Regions from separate parts of the Homo sapiens genome. Here region 1 is linked to region 2. Evidence: promoter capture Hi-C in human tissues and cell types (Jung and others, 2019). All regions are on one chromosome and are shown on one strand. The core of a region is centred on a gene start or on the middle of the fragment in contact, and the rest is flanking DNA. Distances in the headings are between cores, read along the strand shown.

Region 1 (2,700 bases), core at 77-2,576, 320 kb after region 2:
GGACTACAGGCGCCCGCCACCACGCCTGGCTAAATTTTTGTATTTTTAGCAGAGACGGGGTTTCACCGTGTTGGCCAGGATGGTCTCGATCTCCTGACCTCATGATCCGCCCGGCTTGGCCTCCCAAAGTGCTGGGATTACAGGCGTGAGCCACCGCGCCCAGCCAGAAACAGAATCTTAGAATTGTAGAACTACAGCCTTGGAATGTCAGACCCCTAGAAGTGTGTCATTTTTGAGTGGGCCTCCTGTTCCAGCCTTCAGTCAGTTGGGGACCCAAGTCTCTGCAGCATCCCGGAGTACCCACGTCGTAGGTCTTGGGGGCCTTTCCTGACCTCAGTGCTTTGCAGTGACAGGGACGTGGATCTTGGAGCAGTGCAGTCACAGGTTGAGTCTCCCTGATCCAAAATCCAAAATGCTGCCATGTGCGGTGGCTCATGCCTGTAATCCCAACACTTTGGGAGGCCGAGGCGGGTGGATCACCTGAGGTCAGAAGTTCAAAACCAGCCTGGCCAACATGGTGAAAACCTGTCTCTACTAAAAATACAAAAATTAGCTGGGGATGGTGGCGGGCACCTGTAATCCCAGCTACTCAGGGGGCTGAGACAGGACAGTCACTTGAGCCCGGGAGGTGGAGGTTGCAGGGAGCCAAGATCATACCATTGCACTCCAGCCTGGGTGATAAGAGTGAAACTCCGTCCCCTGCCGCCCCGCCCCCCCACCCCAACAAGAAAAACAAGATCTGAAATGCTCCAGAATCCAAAACATTTTGAGCACCAAAATGATGTTCAAAGGAAGTGTTCATTGGAGCAGTCTAAATTTCAGATTTTTGGATTGGGGATGCTCAGCTAGTATATATAATGCAAATATTCCAAAATCCTAAAAAAATTCGAAGTCTGAAACACTTCTGGTTCCAAGCATTTCGGATAAGGAATGCTCTGCCTGTGTGTGGTTGTAGGTAAGCCTCTTCACCTGTAAAATGGGTATGAAGAGAATACCCGCTCTCCTTAATGTAATAAGACCCACCAGGCAGGATATTGGAAGCCAGAAAGTCAGGATTCTTGGTCCACTTGTATGTGGTCCATGTCAAGCGTCCTTGGCCACTCCTGATTAAAACCCATGGAGGCTTTCGCCAGAGGGGGTGGGCCTCCCTTCATGCAGTGGGCATGTTCCATTGGGTTTGGCATGAATTGAGCCTAGGAAGGGAAGTAACATCTCCTGGACGTCTGTGTGCCAGGCTGTCTGCCCAGTGTGCCTCACAGATGAATATACTCCATCCACATACTAAGCCTACAGGGCAGGTGTGTTCGTTATCTCTTCCCCTCTAACATGGCAACTCAAAGCAATAAACATTGATTATTTCACATGGCTTCTGGGGGTCAGGAATTTGGAATTGTGCTAGCTGGTTCTTCAGTGGTTCTAGTCTGGGCTGCAGTCAAGGTGTTGGCTGGGCTGCAGTCATCTGCAGGCTCGACCAGGGCTGCGGGATCTGCCTCCGAGGGGGCTGCTCACGTGCCATCGAGTCAGGGCTGGACGTTGACAGGGACTGGTCCTCACCATGTGGACCTCTCCAGAGGGTTGCTTGAGTGTCCTTACAGTGCAGCCACCAGCTTCCCAGAGTGGGTGACCTGAGAGAGAGAGCAGGGAAGAAGCCACAGTGTCTTTTATGCCCTAGCCTGGGAAGTCACACAACACAGCACTGGGTGTGGGAATGGACGGCGCATAGGTGTGAATTCCAGGAGGTGGGTGTGGTTGGGGCCCTCCTCGGAGGCTGGCTCCTACAGTCTCTTCATTGTTTCGCTGAGAAAGAAACTGAGGCCCAGGGAGGCCGGTAGCTTACCCAGGACCTGACTGTTGGCACCCGCGTCCCTTTAGTAGCTGTAGTTCTCTCGTGATGAGGTTGCCAAGGACGTAGAAGACCCTGCCTTGCAGAATGGTAGAATGTACTGGGCTTCTTTTTTTTTTTTTTTTTTTTTCCCAGACAGAGTCTCGCTCTGTCGCCCAGGCTGGAATACAGTGGTGCGATCTCTGCTCACTGCAAGCTCTGCCTTCTGGGTTCAAATGATTGTCCTGCCTTAGCCTCCCAAGTAGCTGGGATTACAGGCACCTGCCACCACACCCGGCTAATTTTTGTATTTTTAGTAGAGATGGGGTTTCGCCATGTTGGCCAGGCTGGCCTTGAACTCCTGACCTCTGGTGATCCAGCTGCCTCGGCCTCCTAAAGTGTTGGGATTACAGGCGTGAGCCACTGTGCCTGGCCCATACTAGGCTTCTGATGGCCTGTGAGCCCGCTGGGAGGAGTGGGTTTTGAGTCAGCTGCCTACCAGATGTGCCTCCCAGGCACTGCAGTATTTTCCCAGTCCCCTCCCAGTTTAGCCCTCCTCCCATCACTGCAGCAGCCGGCACCTGGGGACATGTGATGCCGTTAACAGGCACGACTGTGAGTGGGACCTGCGTGTGTCATCCCTTCCCTCAGCTTGGAGGTGTTTGACCTCACAGGTCCCATCTGATGGCTGCACTATCTTCCTGGGAGCTCCTGACCTCTGGTAGCAGGTGGCAGGAGAAGGTACTGTCCCAGTGATCCAGAGTCTCCCAACATCTTGGCACCATGAATCTTTTGTAGATTCATGTAAATTCTCCCCAAGTAAATAAGATAAATCCCGACATTACAAACTCCAGGGGTGGACAGACTTGCCCTCCAGC
Region 2 (2,700 bases), core at 57-2,556:
CACTAGGTCTGGCCGCGCGGCATCCCTTCCTGCTGCACCCCAGCTCAGGAACCCCACCATACACACACCCAGGCGCACTCCCCTCCCCACTCCCGGTTCCAGAACTCACTATTTGCAGATATTTATAGCGCCCTCCCTCAGCCAGGTTCCCTCCCCCGCCCTGGGCAGAGCAATGCAAGGAGCCGGGGGCCCCCACCCCGGTAAATGGCCGGGGGCCCTCTCCACATTTGCCTCTGCCTGGTCCCCAGGGGTAGCTACGGCCGCAGCCCCCGCACCCGCCCAGCCCCCGACTGCGCTTGGGCCTCGGCTGCCGCCGCCGCAGTCTGGGGTCGGGGGTGGGGAAGGCGGGCGCGGAGGCCTCCCACCCCAGCCCCGCGCCGCGCCGGAGGTTGTGGGGGAGCCGCGCCGGAGGCTGGGGGGTGCCGCGCACAAAGCACGGCTCGAGCCCCGCGCCTCGGGGACGTCCCCCGCCCGGCCGTGGGAGGGGGTCGGGCGCTGAGGCTCTGCCCTCCGGGGACCGGGGAGCTCGGAGGAGCGGCGGGTAGGGGGAGGGGGCCCGCGCCGAGCGGCTTCCCCGGCATCCCGCCCCCACCGCGGCCTCCGGGCCCCCAGCCCCAGTGCGCCCGCGCCCGCCCCCTAAGGTCACGCTCGGGGAGTGGGCCGCGGAGCCGGGCGGGGGGCGCCAAGCGCAGCGCGGGAGGGCGGGCAGCGCGGGGATAGAGGGGCCGCGGCGCCCCCCAGGACGCCGGGGTCAACTCACCCATCGCCCGCTGGGTCTCAGCAACGGCGGCAGCAGCGGCGGCGGCGGCTCCGCGGCCCCCGGGGTCCCCGGCGGGGAGATGCTGGCGTCCGCCGCAGCCTCTCGCCCCATCCCGGGCTCCGGCGGCAGCGGCTGCGGCGGGCGCCCGGCATCGCAGGCAGCGCGGCCCCGGCCCGGCCCCGATCCCCTCCCCCCACCCCCACTTCCACCCCGTCCCGGGGACCCGGCGCGGCCGCTCGGCTGCACCCCGGGGCGGCGGCGGGGGCCCGGCGAGCGGACGGGCGCGGGGGAGGGACCGCGGCGGGCGCGCGGGGGGCGCGGAGGCGAGGCCGAGCGCGGCGCGCAGGGGTGCCCGCTCCCGCCGGCTCAAGCGGCTCCGGCCCCCACCCCGCCCCCTCCGCAACCCCCTCCCCTCCCCCGCCAGCCGGGCTCCGCCGCCGCGCCGGGCCGGGGGCGCCTCGCACCGCAGACTCCGGCCGCCGCCGCCCCGCGCCGCCCGCGCGTGCTGGATCGAGTGTGTGCGTGTGCGAGCGAGTGTGTGTGAGTGCGAGTGTGCGCGCGCCCCTCCTGTGACCGTGCGTGCGCCGGCCCACGGCCCGGGGCGGCCTGCGCGGGGGCGTGTGCGGGGAATGCGGGTAGTTCGGAGTGCGGGCCTGGTGTGCGTGCGGGGCAGCAAGTCCCGTTCTGTGTATGCGTGGACGGGTGCGTTCCGCAGCGTGCCCGGGTCGGTGTGACTCCGTGTGCCCGAGTCTGTGCCTGTGTGTGCATGGACGTGCAGATCCGTGTTGCGGTGTGTGCGTGGATGCGCCTGTGCCCGCGTGAACCTGGGCCGGGATTTCGCATAGGCATCTGTGACCATGTGCAGAGGCCTGGGCCTGTGATGTGTGCACGGTGCCGGGCCTGTTACGGTGTCTGCAGAGTCTGTGTGTCTGCTTGGGGCGTGGGTGACCGCTGTACACCGGCCTGTGTCCTTCCGTCCGACCCCCTCCGTCCCTCACATGCCCGAAGCCACCTGCGCACTCCTGGGGTAACTGGGGGGGCCTCCCCTCCCCCGCCCCCCTCACCCGGCCACCCTAGGCCCGGTCGGCCCTGCCAACCCTCTTGAGCCTACTCTCCTGCCACTTGCCCACCAGCGGTTCTCCGAGGGCCCACCGTGTCGTGCCCTGGCTCCTCGTGGCCTTGCTCTAGGCCATTCCTCTCAGGGCTCAGAGGCGTCCCCCACGTGTTTCCCGCCTTTCAAGTGGTTCCGTTCTGGGGCCTACAGAGCAGCCACTTCCTCCCGCGGTGCGAGGCACAAGGCATTGTGGGTACGCAGCAGACATCTCTGCGCCGCCATCGTCGAAGGTGCAGGGATGCGCTACCTATTCTATATCCCAGCGAATGTGCTCCAGAATAGTCCCAGAGGCCTTTGCTGAACCATCCGGGCTGCCTAGGGCTGGTCTACCTGCTCCAGGTGCCTCCGTGCCCAGCTTCATCCATCCTTGCTGAGGAGGCAGAGTGATCCTACTCCAACATTCACTTGAGCAGGTCACTCTCCTGCCTGCACCTTCAATGGCTCCCACTTGCCCTCAGCTTAAGTTCAGTGCCTGGGCGGGGCACAGGGAGCCCCTGGTGACCTAGTCTTGCCCCCTTCTTCAACGTCACCCTCACTGCTCTTTTCTTCCTGGAGGCTCTCTCTAAGCAAGGGTGGGCAAACCATTTGCTTTAAGAGATTGATTGTAAATCTTTTAGGCTTTGCCAGCCATATGGTCTCTGTCCCAACTACTCAACTCTGCCATCGTAGCATAAAATCAACCATAGACAATACGTAAAAGAATGAGCCTGGCGGTGTTCCAATAAAACTTTATGGACACAAAAATTTGAATTTCGTGTCATTTTCACGTGTCCAGAAACATTTTTTGATGTTTTCCCAACCATTTGAAAGTGTAAGATCCATTCCT

Evidence for each region. Contacts are between HindIII fragments. The study calls those that stand out against the background at their distance.
Region 1: a fragment that was not itself captured here is called in contact with the fragment with the promoter of MGAT3 in region 2 in 1 of the 25 tissues and cell types used here (hippocampus).

Annotation. Positions count from the first base shown.
Region 1 is chr22:39,135,365-39,138,064 of GRCh38, reverse strand. All of the region lies in intron 4 of CBX7 (chromobox 7), which reads left to right. Among named protein-coding and RNA genes, the nearest start is that of CBX7, 16 kb to the left of the region's middle. RefSeq lists an enhancer at 1,986-2,700. The HindIII fragment of the contact is 3,206 bases long and covers 1-2,700 here.
Region 2 is chr22:39,455,618-39,458,317 of GRCh38, reverse strand. MGAT3 (beta-1,4-mannosyl-glycoprotein 4-beta-N-acetylglucosaminyltransferase) reads right to left here and starts at 1,306. Exons shown (of 2, transcript NM_002409.5): 1 at 761-1,306. RefSeq lists silencers at 181-310, 321-590, 1,321-1,380. The HindIII fragment of the contact is 12,980 bases long and covers 1-2,700 here.